Regions from separate parts of the Homo sapiens genome. Here regions 2, 3 and 4 are each linked to region 1. The links are contacts of gene promoters, found by promoter capture Hi-C in blood cells and fetal thymus (Javierre and others, 2016). All regions are on one chromosome and are shown on one strand. Each heading gives the region's core, a stretch centred on a gene start or on the middle of the fragment in contact. The rest is flanking DNA. Distances are from core to core; before and after follow the strand shown. Region 1 holds the start of DEFB118 (defensin beta 118). Region 2 has its middle 17 kb from the start of DEFB121. Region 3 has its middle 18 kb from the start of DEFB116. Region 4 holds the start of DEFB121 (defensin beta 121).

The links. The method cuts DNA at HindIII sites, captures the fragments that hold promoters and counts their contacts. A CHiCAGO score of 5 or more calls a contact.
Region 2: a contact is called between a fragment that was not itself captured here and the fragment with the promoter of DEFB118 in region 1, in 2 of 17 cell types (total CD8 T cells and M1 macrophages). The highest score is 5.3, in total CD8 T cells.
Region 3: a fragment that was not itself captured here is called in contact with the fragment with the promoter of DEFB118 in region 1 in 5 of 17 cell types (total B cells, naive CD8 T cells, naive B cells and 2 more); the score reaches 6.0 in total B cells.
Region 4: a contact is called between a fragment that was not itself captured here and the fragment with the promoter of DEFB118 in region 1, in 15 of 17 cell types (naive CD8 T cells, total B cells, naive B cells and 12 more). The highest score is 11.5, in naive CD8 T cells.

Annotation. Positions count from the first base shown.
Region 1 is chr20:31,366,977-31,370,240 of GRCh38, reverse strand. DEFB118 (defensin beta 118) reads right to left here and starts at 1,640. Exons shown (of 2, transcript NM_054112.3): 1 at 1,533-1,640. The coding sequence starts at 1,590. The HindIII fragment of the contact is 1,593 bases long and covers 1,061-2,653 here.
Region 2 is chr20:31,421,509-31,424,772 of GRCh38, reverse strand. It overlaps the pseudogene DEFB122. Among named protein-coding and RNA genes, the nearest start is that of DEFB121, 17 kb to the right of the region's middle. The HindIII fragment of the contact is 3,840 bases long and covers 1-3,264 here.
Region 3 is chr20:31,324,954-31,328,217 of GRCh38, reverse strand. No RefSeq gene overlaps it. Among named protein-coding and RNA genes, the nearest start is that of DEFB116, 18 kb to the right of the region's middle. The HindIII fragment of the contact is 4,460 bases long and covers 1-3,264 here.
Region 4 is chr20:31,404,799-31,408,062 of GRCh38, reverse strand. It overlaps DEFB121 (defensin beta 121), which reads left to right and starts at 1,848. Exons shown (of 2, transcript NM_001011878.3): 1 at 1,848-1,968; 2 at 2,978-3,218. The coding sequence starts at 1,911. The coding sequence ends at 3,150. The HindIII fragment of the contact is 7,039 bases long and covers 1-3,264 here.

The DNA.
Region 1 (3,264 bases), core at 391-2,890:
TAAGATACACAACTTCTGATTACTGACTTCTGGTTACCCAGAATCCCTTGGGGTAGGAACACAAGCATAGGAAGAGCCAGCAGCAGGAGTTTCATGGTCCCTGGGAAACAGGAGAGGTTTCCCTGTTTCCCTACCCTGAACGCCAGGGTAGACCCAGGCGTTCAGAACGCTGTGTGCAGTGGGAGTCTGAACAAGAGTTATTGGCCTCTCTGCAATGAGGGCAGAGGAATAGAGGAATTAATGGAACAAATATATATTTTTAATTTTCTTGCCCACCCCCACCAGACTTACATTTAACTTGGTTATTTGCCCTCTAGGAATCTATCCTATTTAAGCCCATATCCATATATGTAAATATATTAATGTTTGTACAAGCATATTCATTGATGTCTTGTTCGAAAATTAAGAAATGTCTCAAATGGCTATATATGACTTTATATGGCTTATCCTACAGCAGAACTATACAACTTTACAAACAATAAGGCAGATCTTTAGATGGTGACATGGAAAGATGGCCACAAAATAATAAGTGAAAGAAGAGTGCTGCATAGGGCCGGGTGCGGTGGCTCATGCCTGTAATCCCAGCACTTTGGGAGACCGAGGCGGATGGATCACCCGAGGTCAAGAGTTTGAGACCAGCCTTGCCAACATGGTGAAACCCCATCTCTACTAAAAATACAAAAATTAGTCGGACATGATGGTGCATGCCTGTAATCCCAGCTGCTTGGGAGGCTGAGGCAGGAGAATTGCTTGAACCCAGGAGGCAGAGGTTGCAGTGAGCTGAGATTGCGCCACTGCACTCCAGCCTGGGTGACAGATTGAGATTCCATCTTCAAAAAAAAAAAAAAAAAAAAACACAAGAGTGCTGCATAGCCATGCAGGGAGTGTGCTTACTTCGTTATAAAACAGAAATATTTAGATTCATTTTTATGTAAGTTCGATCATACATTGAAATGCACCTTGAAAAACATAAAGGAGAAACAGGCTCTCTTCACCAGTGATTTCAAAGTTCTGGTCATGCCTTTAGATATACTTAAGAAAGCAGTGATTATGAAAAGCTTAGATTTTCACTGTAGAAGGAAGAAGAAAAGCCAGTTCTGTCTTCCGTGTAACAGCTCTACCAGTGTTTTCTGACTTGTTCACCAAATTCTAGAATATTAGAAAACAAAAAGAACCTCATTATAGCTATAGCAGGACTTTTAGGGCCAAGAAAACATAGCAAAGTGGGCTGCAGGAATCATTTTCAAAAGCTGGCACAATCTGGAAAGAGAACAGATGTGAGCCGAGCTTTCCCCTAGTTTCTTAGGCGGCAACTTGGAATATAGAACCAAGGACAACTCTGGATGGTGGGACTGCCCCTGTCTATTGAGGATAACTTGCTCTACTCCCAGGTTTTACCCCAGCCAGGAGCATAGTCCCAGTGTGGGAACTGTGGAGCTGCCCATGTTGGGGAGTACCGTGACACATTGGAATTTTCATGAGCCAGAACCCACTATACCTCTATTTTTGTATCTTCCCTGACCTCTGATTACCTGGGATCACTTGGGGTAGGAGCACAAGCATAGGAAGAGCCAGCAGCAGGAGTTTCATGGTCCTTGGGAAGCAGGAGGTGGTAGATCCAGGAGTTCAGAATACTGTGTGCAGTGTGAGTCTGAACAAGAGTTTTATTGGCCTCTCTGCAGTGGGGGCAGAGGGATGGGCACAGAACCAGCCGGATATCTAAGAGCTTATCCATGCATAACATCAGTCTAGTGTGTGGCACATAAGCTGAGCATTTGATCCAGGCACTGGGAGGGCATGCAGAGGGTTACAAGTCACAGGTTTTGAGGAGGTGTTTGGAGCAATGGAGAGGGAAGATTCACACTGGGACATCTTCCCTAGCTTTCCCCGATCTCTCATTAGGGCTCAGCCCTTCTTCACAGCCCCTCTCACTCTAGCATAAACCTACTTTTGAATGGTCTACTTATCTGTGTGTCTCCCCGCACCAGCCTGTGAAATTCCTGAGAGTAGGGAACGTGTCTTTCATTTTTGAGCCCCCAAGGCACGAAGCATGCTCTCAGTGAAGGTTTGTGGAAATAAACGATAATGAACACATGTCAATCTATAAGCCAAATCCCTCTCTTACATATGTGCCCAACAGGGAAAATGACTTGCCCAAGAAGTCACTTGCTGCAGAAGTTTGAGGGAGATCATTTATAAGACTCAAAGGGGGATGCTACCCAATGTCATTAAAAAAAAAATTCCCTAGCTGGGTGTGGTGGTGGGTGCCTGTAATCCAAGCTACTCAGGAGGCTGAGTCAGGAGAATCGCTTAAACCCAGGAGGTGGAAGTTGCAGTGAGCTGAGATCGCACCACTGCACTCCAGCCTGGGCAACAGAGTGAGACTCTGTCTCAAAAAAAAAAAAAAAAATCCCTGCTGAAGACAGATCTACAATAATTTGGGATGTTACCTTTGACAACGGCACCATGAGGGTCATCAGAGGTCTGGGAGCTGTCCATGAAGACCCCAACATTTAGACTTGCCTTTGGGATGTGGAACCTCGATGTCACCCCCAGAGTCAGCCTAGGTCCTGCATTGCTTTAGTTGCATTTTCATCGTGTTTCAACTTTTGCTCCCTCTTGTTTACTCGGCTCTAAAAGTCTCTGTAAAGCTTTTACAGAGGAGGTTGCTGATTTTTCTCTTCTGGAATTGATAACTTTCACTGTGAGAATAATTGATGGGAATTAGCAGGGTTGCCATGTGATTGAGGAGACTTCTCTTCTGGATGGAACCATGTGGAAAGCGTAGCATGGTGGTGGGCTATTTTCAAATTAATTTTGTTTTATGTTTTTATTTTTTTGAGACAGGATCTCGCTCTGTAGCCCAGGCTAGGGTGCAGTGGTGCGATCACAGCTCATTGCAGCCTCAAGCTCCTGAGCTCAAGCAATCCTCCCACCTCAGCCTCCTGAGTAGCTGGGACTGCCCAGGTATTCACCACCATGCCCGAATATTTAAAAAAATTTTTTTGGGAGAGACAGGTCTTACTATGTTGCCCAGGCTAGTCTCAAACTCCTGGGTTCAAGTGGTCCTCCCTCCTTGGCCTCCCAAAGTGCTGGAATTACAGGCATGGGCCACTGCACCTGGCCTCCAAATTAATTTTAGATTAGTATGTTCTAACAGGCAGAACTCTCTTACTATGGAATTGTTTCCCAGAGAGGGAGGGGGTACTCTATAACTCATTTTTCAAGCAGGGTCTAAGTGATTAAATAGGATGGATTTCTATA
Region 2 (3,264 bases), core at 517-3,016, 54 kb before region 1:
AAGGGCAGCCCTGAGAATCCTAAGGTGTAAACCCAATGAGTGTTGCCTAGGCTGGGGCTGAAAACCTAGAGTTCCAGGCATTCCATTTTCCATGCCTTTTCACACCCAAAGAATCATAGTATATGAGGATTGAGTTAATCCCTACAGCCCATCTGCTCCAATCTGCTCATTGGTGAGATTAAAGCCCAGAGAAGGGAAGTGACTCTCCCAAGGTCACACAGCCACTAACTGGCACAGCCAGGACAACAAGCTGAATATTTCAGCTTGTCTTTTCTCACCCTCCATGCCAAAATGCTTCCTGAAACTGAGGATTTTAGGTACTCGGGCTTTCTTTCTTAGGAAATAATCCAATAGACACATTCTCCCTAAAATATGAATGATCGTCCTTTCTTCTTTACTCCTCTGCTCTCAAACTGGGAATTGCATTTGAAAAAAGGAGCTTGCTTCATTTACATTAGAACCATGATAATGGTGGATTTCTAAACCAGAGAATATAGGGCTTTGCAGGGCATAGTAAAGATTGTGGATTTTTTTTTTCTAGTTGTGGAGTCTTGGAGGATTTTTAAGCTGTATTATAACAAGGGCTGACATACATTTTTAAAAGTATCCTTCTGGGTGTTGTATGATTTATTTTTGCTGGTCCCTAAAAGATGATGGTGGACAAAGGGAGGCGTGCGAGCTCAGGGGTGTGGGGTCCACACTCTGGGTGCAGGGGTGTTGGGATGGTGACTGAGCATGAAAAAAAAAGGCAGGTTGTCCCAGAGCAAACTGTACCCATGGGCAGATAGTGGCACGTGTGAGTGACACACTTCCCAGCTGATTAGAGGCAGCAGAGAGTCCTGAGCTCGCCTCCATTTCCTGCCACTTCACCAGAGCCGAGACTACTCTGTGGGCTACTTGAAGTCATGAAGACTTTTTTGGTAACTTTGGCTGTGCTGCTGCTCTTCCTCCAAGTCATTCCAGATAACCTAGACCTCTCTAGGGGAGGGACTGGGAGTAGACAGTGAGTCTTGGTCAGGGCACACCAGGGCCTGGGAGGATGGGCTGACAGGGAGCAGTGTGAAATATTAATTGTCTGGAGGAAGAGGAAAGAGTCCCCAGATCCTGGTTTAGAACCTGCCTCACCATTTGCAAGTTCTGTGATGCCCCCAGCAAACTACTTGGTGCCTGTGAGTTTCAGTTTATTCTTTTCTCAATTTAAAATAATAAATTAGGTTGAAGGATCAACATTGAGGACACTGACATTTTGATGTACAACAAATATAGCTTTTTAAATTTTCTGTAATTCATTTGAATGTTTCCAGGAACTCCCATCCTGCTGGTAGGAAAAGTGGGAGTTAGAAAGGGCACAGGGATGTACACAACTTCAGAAGACAATTGTATTCATCTTTTTTGATTTAAAAGAACCTCTCAGATTAGCTCATTTTGCTTTAAAATGTTCAGTCTTTCAGCATTTCTACTTTCACCTCACCCCCTTCTTCTTCTCAGGATGGCAGCTGGATTTAGGGGATAGTGGACATGTCATTGCTTAAATAACTCGTTCAATCAGTAAATATTGTTGAGTGGATTCCGTGTGCCAGGCACAGGTGCTGGAGATAGAGCAATGAATCAACCAACTAACCAACCAACCAAACAAAATCTCCATCCTCTTGGAGCTTATGATTCTATTAGGGGAGGAAATGAGCAGGGTAAGCAGGGGATAGCAAGTATCAGGGTACGTGAATTTGCAACTTAAAAAGGGGTGTCAAGGGAATGCCTCACTGAGAAGGTGACATTCAAATGAAGACTTGAAGGAAGTGAGGGGTGAGCCGTACAGATATGTTGGGAAGAACCTTCATTTATTAGCTGAACTCCTTATCAAAGAGGCATTTTCCCTCATCTGTTTGGTTACCTTGGGGTTTAGAGAGTTCAGAGAGGAAGACAGGATAAATGCTTGAGTTTATCTTTGCTTAATTGGTTTGAGAGATAATGAATTAGTTTTCTATCAGCCTCTGAGGTTAAGCCATTAGTTTTTCTTAAATATTATTTATTTTGAACTGATGATTCTAAGCAATGAGTTCAATCTATTGCAATTATTTTCGCTATTGAAGTATACATTGTCTTATTCTTGGCCAATAGGAGTCTCTTTAATTTGGCTCGTATGTCTTTTAGATATATCCCTATTAATCTTTGGTGCTTTCTTAGTATCTGGTACGACAGAATGTTTCAAGATCATCTTGTAATTTACTGCCCAAGAACTGGAATCCACCATATCTCCAAGAAGTCCTGTTTTTTAAAAAAAGTTTACTGGGAGATAGTATTTTAAGATTATAGCATGGGTACTAGGAATACTAATTTCTACTAGTTAGTTATTGTTTCTAGACTTTCTCAGTGACCAGAGCTGGAAAAATTTCAATCTATCTATCCATCCATCAATCATCTATTTATTTTATCTATTTAAATATAAAATACTTGTGAGTTCATATTGGCATTTTCAATTCAAATTCAGAACTCAAATTCAGAATCAACTTTTATATTACATCAGTATTTTCTTTTCTATACTGAGAATTCTGGTTGTCAAGGTCACAGGGGACGATAGAATATCCCATGACTTACTCATTTGATTGATCTCTCATTACATATACAATAGTCTTAGTAAAATAATATCAATGCTACCATAATGTCATGATTACTCAAACTAGTTAAGATGTCTGCATATGTTCTCACCATTATTCTCTCATTTTTATGTTGTACTCTATTTATATTGTCAGAACATATAGCCATTATGTACTTTACTACCTCTTTTAAAATCCTCATTTTGGTTCTACAAGTATCTTTATATTTAATATTTAGTTCTGTGTCAATGCTCCTCTCATTTGCTTGTCTACAGCTCTTTTTCTAGTAGATTCTTTAGAAAGGGCTCATGGGTTTCACTGGATATTTCCTGAGTTTCAATATGGTGATAGACAATACCACCACCCTAGTTACCTAGAGGGAATGCCTCCTTCTTCTACAGCCCCCTTCTTCTGTCTGGTCCTCTGTTAGTCTTCTCAGTCCAGGACTCATTTCCCCTCATAACTGATATCAGCTCCTTTCTTTTTTCTTTTTGTAATAGGCAGGATTGAAACATGTTGGAATTTTCGTGGCTCCTGCCGTGACGAATGCCTGAAGAATGAAAGGGTCTATGTTTTCTGCGTGAGTGGTAAACTGTGCTGTTTGAAGCCCAAGGACCAGCCACATTTACCACAGCATATAAAGAATTAGTGCTTTAAAGTCTGAGGCCAC
Region 3 (3,264 bases), core at 357-2,856, 42 kb after region 1:
TTGGAACTTCCATTTTTGTATCTATATCTGTACTTACTGCCCACGTTGGGTTTAGGACAGAGCCTGACACAAAGTAGTTGCTTTTGTCATCTTCCCTCTCTTCCTGCTACCCTCAATTTTTATTCTCATCTCTTTGCTTTCTTCTTTGTTCCTATGGTGCTTAGCACAAGGCTGAATGCATAAGTGCTCCATAGCTCTTACACAACAGGAGGGAAGGACAATTTATTATTTTAAAGGGTTTCTTAAAAAACGCTTTTCATTATTATTTGTGTCTTACACAAAAGGACTAATGGTTTTTTTGTGAGGGATGATAACAAATTTTTTTTTTTTAGCTTTGTTCAGGTATAATTGACAAATAAAAATTTATATGTTTACATTGTACAATTGTTTTGATATATGTATACATTGTGAATTGATCACCACAATCAAGCTAATTAAAATATCCATTACCTCACATAGTTGCTATTTTTTTCCTTTTTTTTTGTGGTGAGAACACTTACCATGTACTAGCAAATATCACGTATATATTACTAACTGTAATCGCTATACTGCATATTATCTTCAGAACTTACTTTGCATAACTGAAACTTGGTACCCTGTGACAAATATCTCCCCATTTTCCCCTTCCCCCACCGTGGCAACCACCATTGTACGCTCTGCCTCTATGAGGGTGACAACACTATAGGTTGAAGAAAATACCCATTACCCAAGGGTATGTTTTTGGCATCCTTGTTGAAGACTAGGTGACTGAATGTGTAGAATTGTTTCTAGAATCTCTATTCTGTTCTGTTAGTCTATCTGTCTGTTTTTATGTGAGTACCATGCTGTTTCATTTACTGTAGATTTGTAATATATTTTGAAAACAGAAAGTGTGATGGATTTGTTCTTTTTGGGGTCTTTTGTAATTCCACATGAATTTTAGTGTTTTTGTTTGTTTCTGTGAAAAATGGCATTGGAATTTTGATAAGGATTGCATTGAATCTCTAGATCACTTTGGGTAGTATGAACATTTTAACAATATTAATTCTTCCCGTCCATGAACATGAGGTCTTTTCATTTACCTGTACCTTCTTTAATTTCCTTCAGCAACGTTTTATAATTTTCACTGTACGAGCCTTTCTCCTCTTTGATTAGGCTTATTCTTAAGTATTTTATGCTTTTTGTTGCCATTGTAAATATAACTGTTGTCTTAATTTCCTTTTCAGATTGTTTGTGCATAGAAATGCCACTGATTTTTGTATGTTGATTTTTATCCTGCGATTTTACTGAATTAGTTTCTTAGTTCTAACAGGGTTTTTTTGTTGAGTCTTTATGGTTTACTATATATATGATCATGTCATCTGGAAACAGAGATAATTTTACTTCTTCCTTTTAAATTTGGATGCCTTTTATTTCTTTGTCTTGTCTAATTGCTCTGACTAGGACTTCTAATACTGTATTGGGTAGAAACGGCAAGAGTGGGCCTCCTAGCCTTGTACCAGATCTTAGAGAAAAAACTTCCAGTTTATCCTCATTGATTATGTTAGTTTTTCAATTCATTGATTATGAATAATATAGGACTCTCTCAAGTGTGCTGGAGTTCTGGTCTTTTTTTAGGATTCTGGTCTTGTGTAGGGTGACCAGCAACTGAAGCCTGGTTTCAGGCAGCTTGATGAAGTTATCCTCATGTTCATTTCATGTTAGCATCTCTTTGTGGCTGTCTGCCAAGGGCTTTTTCAGTGTTGAGAGCCTTCAGTGTCGAGGTCTTTTCATTGTTGAGATTCAGTATGGGCTTTATTGTGTTAAGTTCCTCCTATACCTATTTTTTTTTTTTTTTTTTTGAGACGGAGTTTCGCTCTGTCGCCCCGGCTGGAGTGCAGTGGTGCAATCTCGACTCACTGCAAGCTCCACCTCCCGGGTTCACGCCATTCTCCTGCCTCAGCCTCCTGTGTAGCTGGGACTACAGGTGCGTGCCACCATGCCTGGCTAATTTTTGTATTTTTAGTAGAGACGGGGTTTCACCGTGTTAGCCAGGATGGTCTCGATCTCCTGACCTCGTGATCCGCCCGTCTCGGCCTCCCAAAGTGCTGGGATTACAGGCGTGAGCCACCGCGCCCGGCCACCTATTTTTTTTAAGAGATGGTTGATATGATTTCAATCTTCTTAAATTTCTGAAGACTTGTTTTGTGACCTAGCATGTGATTTATTCTGGAGAATGTTTCAGGTGTACTTGAGAAGAATGTGTAGTCCTCTGCTATTGAATAGAAAGTTCTATGTCTGTTAGGTCCGTTTGGTCTATAATATTGTTCAAGTCAGCTGTTTATTGATTTTTTCTGTCTGTATATTCCATCCATTTTTGAAAGTGGGGTATTGAAGTCTCCTACTATTATTGTATTGTTGCCAGTTTCTCCCTTCAGATCTGTCTACATTTGGTTTATATAATTATGTGCTCTGGTGTTGGGTAGGTTTATATTTATAAATGTTATATCATTCTATTGAATTAACCCTTTTATCATTATAAATGACTCTCTTTGTCCCTAGAGACCCTTTTATCATTATAATGACTTTCTTTGTCCCTAGAGATAGTTTTGACTTTAAGTCTATTTTGTCTGATATAAGTATAGCCATCCTTGCACCCTTGCTTTCTTTTGGTTACCTTTTACATGGAGTATTTTTTTTTTCCATCCCTTCATTTTCAGTCTATGTGTGCCCACAAATCTAAAGTGAGTCTCTTGTAGACAGCATATCATTGACTCTTTTTTTTTTTTAACCCATTCATATACTCTCCCTTTTTGATTGGGAAGTTTAATTCATTTACTTTAAAGTAATTATTAATAGGCGAGGGCTTTAGCTATTTTGTTACTCATTTTCTGAAAGGACAAATGATTTTCTTTTACCAGGAGAGAAAGCCCACTTTTGTTATGGATGCTGGCCAGTATCTCACTTTCCCATTCCAATGTCTAGATGGAATATATATTAAATGTTGTATCTCTGTTATGTTGACTTCAGATAAATTGCCTCTCTCTATATTTTGCTGACCAATACCCCACCATGCTTCAGGAGCTAATATAGTCAGAGTTCAGACTTGCTGCAAAAATTATTTTGCATCCTTCATAAATCAGTCACCTACTTCTCCTGGGACCCTGCAGCCACAGAGTTTCATATCCTGATCTTTGTCAATCTGCTTCATGGAATTCAAATAATATAGGACTCTCTCAAGTGTGCTGGAGTTCTGGTCTTTTTTTAGGATTCTGGTCTTGTGTAGGGTGGCCAGCAACTGAAGCC
Region 4 (3,264 bases), core at 496-2,995, 38 kb before region 1:
TCACGCCTGTAATCCCAGCACTTTGGGAGGCTGAGGCGGGTGGATCACCTGAGGTCAGGAGTTTGAGACAAGCCATGGCCAACATGGTGAAACCTCGTCTCTACCAAAAATACAAAAATTAGCTGGGTGTGGTGGCGCGTGCCTGTAGTCCTAGCTACTCGGGGGGCTAAGGCAGGAGAACTGCTTGAACCCGGGGGGCAGAGGTTGCAATGAGCTGAGATGGTGCCACGGCACTCCAGCCTGGGCAACAGAGCAAGACTCTGTCTTAAAGAAAAAAGAAAAAGAAAAGAAAGATAGACCTTACCATTATTGTCCTAAAAAGCACTTGGCTCTTTCCTGATCTATCTGCTGGCCTTGTGTATAAGTTAGCCATTACTATGTAATGTTCCACTCCAAAACTCAGTGGCTTAAAACATCAATCCTTTATATTTGGCTAGATTGCCCTGCTTGAGGCTGGAATGCCTGGGGCAGCTCTGTTTCTCACTGTAGATCTGTGAGTCGCCTGGAGTAGCTGTGCCCCACGTATCTCTCATCCTCCTTGGACCACTGGGGCATGTTCTTCTCATAGTGATGGCAGAGACACAGAAGGGCAAATGAAAATATTCATCATCTCTTAAAACCTAGGCTTACAACCGGCACACCGTCACTTCTGCCCACATATCACTAGCCAAAGCAAATCACATGCCAAGGCCAAAGTGAAGGGAAAATGAAATAGAGTTCTCCTAGGATGAGACCTTGGCAAATGTGTGAATTCAAGTAGGGATGAAGAAGTAGGGCCAAGATTACAATCTACCATTTCTTTCTTTCTTTTTTGAGACAGAGTCTCGCTCTGTTGCCCAGGCTGGAGTGCAGTGGCACAATCTCGGCTCACTGCAACCTCCGCCTCCCGGATTCAAGCTAGTCTCCTGCTTCAGCCTCCTGAATAGCTGGGACTACAGTGGCCAGCCACCACGCCCGGCTAATTTTTTGTATTTTTTTTTGTAGAGACGGGGTTTCACTGAGTTAGCCAGGATGGTCTCGATCTCCTGAACTTGTGATCCGCCTGCCTCGGCCTCCCAAGTTGCTGGGGCAATCTACCATTTCTTATAAGAAAGACCAAGCTGGGCATGATGGCTCATGCCTTTAATCCTAGCACTTTGGGAGGCCAAAGCAGGAGAATTGCTTGAGACCAGGAATTCGAGGTTCCAGTGAGCTATGATTGTGCCACTGCACTCCAGCCTGGGTGACAGAACAAGACTGTCTCAAAAAAATAAGTAATAATAAAAAAAAGACCACAACAATAATAAATGGCTTTTCTTTTGCTACCTATGAGGGTGCTACTTGTTCCTATTAAATATGTACTGTTAAAAGTAAGGGCTATGGCTTTCCTGCTCATTCCACTCCATGAATACTGACATTCTGGTTTCCAGTGGTGATGGCCATGGAGCTATTAAGGTATTTTCCCCTGCTCTGCCCTTCATTTGGTATTATAATGAATCATCAACATATGGGACATCCTAAGATGTCCTTGTTGCTGGGAAGAACCCAAGGCGCAGAGAAGTATCACTCCTTTTCTGTCTTATCTCTTTTTCTCTCTCTTTTTTTCTCATTAATGAAAAACAAATTAGAGATGAAAATATTTTTCCCCTTCTTGGTTCTCCAGCTGTATTATAAAATTCTTCAGAGGCAAGGCCGTATCTTCTCTTTGTTAACGTCCCTTCCCCCTCTCCCAGCCTCCTCAGGCAGTGTGGTTGATACCTTCCTTGCCTGCCTGTCTGATCTCAAATGACTGTTCCCGTTCTGGTTCACTGATCTTGGCTCTGCCATGCTCCTCAAGGCAATAAATACCAGTCTGGACTGCCCAGAATGGAGTCCTCTGTCTGTTTTACCAGTTGAGAAGCCTCCTATCCCTCCCTGATCATTCATCATTCATGAAGCTCCTTCTTCTGCTTTTGACTGTTACTCTGCTCCTGGCCCAGGTCACCCCAGGTAAACAGGATCTCCAGAAGGGGATGGGAGTCAGGAAACCTGATGCATGTTCAGAGAACTCTGGGGACTCTGACAGGTTGGGCTGGGAGAATGGCCTGGTAGAGCTCATTGAGGCCTTTAGGTAGTCTCTCTAGTTATGGGGAAGTTTGAGTTCTCTGGTACCAAATGGTCTTCCCAGTGCCCAGTACTTGACCATTCCAACCTTATCTCTGGTTAGCTCTGGAAAAGCTGAACGTGATGACCTGAGGATGGGATAGGGTGTAAAGAGAGAGACTTGGGTATGGAGTATAGAGAAAATGGGGACTTTTTCAAAAACATTCATTGAAAGGATTTGAATTTTGATGCATTGTTGCCTCTAGGAAAATGGTTCTCAAATTTCTGATTGTTTGAGGATTCTGATTCCACTTTTTAATGCAACCTCAAATCATCTGGGTTACCTTAGGTTGTAGGTTCCCTGGAATAGCTGTTCCTAATTCCCTTGACTGGTTGGGGCCAGAGAAAAGTCCCAGGATGTTGTGAAGAAGGCAGTATGATATTCTTGGGAGTTTTAAAGGTGCCCTAGAAGACTTACAGATGTTAAATGAGTTTATTTAATATTCCTGTCACCTTTCATTGATATGGTCAGAGGGGGTACCAAAGAACAATGAGAAAAGGTGGCTAATTGCTACTGGGCACCTGGGTACATTATAATATGGGGGAGATAAAACCCTTGGGAGAGGGGTCCTCTTCCCCCTCCCAAGGAGCTGGCCAAGGAGGGGAAGCTATCCAGTAGGTCCTATGCCACTGAGTTGGGGGGACTCTGGGGGTTCTAACAGGGGGCACAAGTGAAGGAAGAAAGCGTAGTGGTCTATAATCTCCCTTAAACTTAGGGGATCCTGTGTAAGAGCTTCTTCCCCACAGACCTCCTCATTTCCCTCCTACTCCTCTACTGGGCTTTAGCCTCTTCCTTTCACACCTTTCTGCTTTCTTTCAAAACTGACTCTATTCTCTTCTTCCCTTTTGTTTTCAGTCATGAAATGTTGGGGCAAGTCAGGCAGGTGCAGAACAACATGTAAAGAAAGTGAAGTATACTATATATTATGCAAAACTGAGGCTAAGTGCTGTGTGGATCCCAAGTATGTACCTGTAAAACCAAAATTAACAGACACAAATACAAGCCTGGAATCAACTTCTGCAGTCTGACACCTCTCTTCCAACCTTGAGTCTCAACATCATGGGATCCTGCAGTTCTATTAAATCATTCTTGGCAACACCCTGTTTCTGTCTGATAGTTCCACCTAGTTACATTTAGAAACA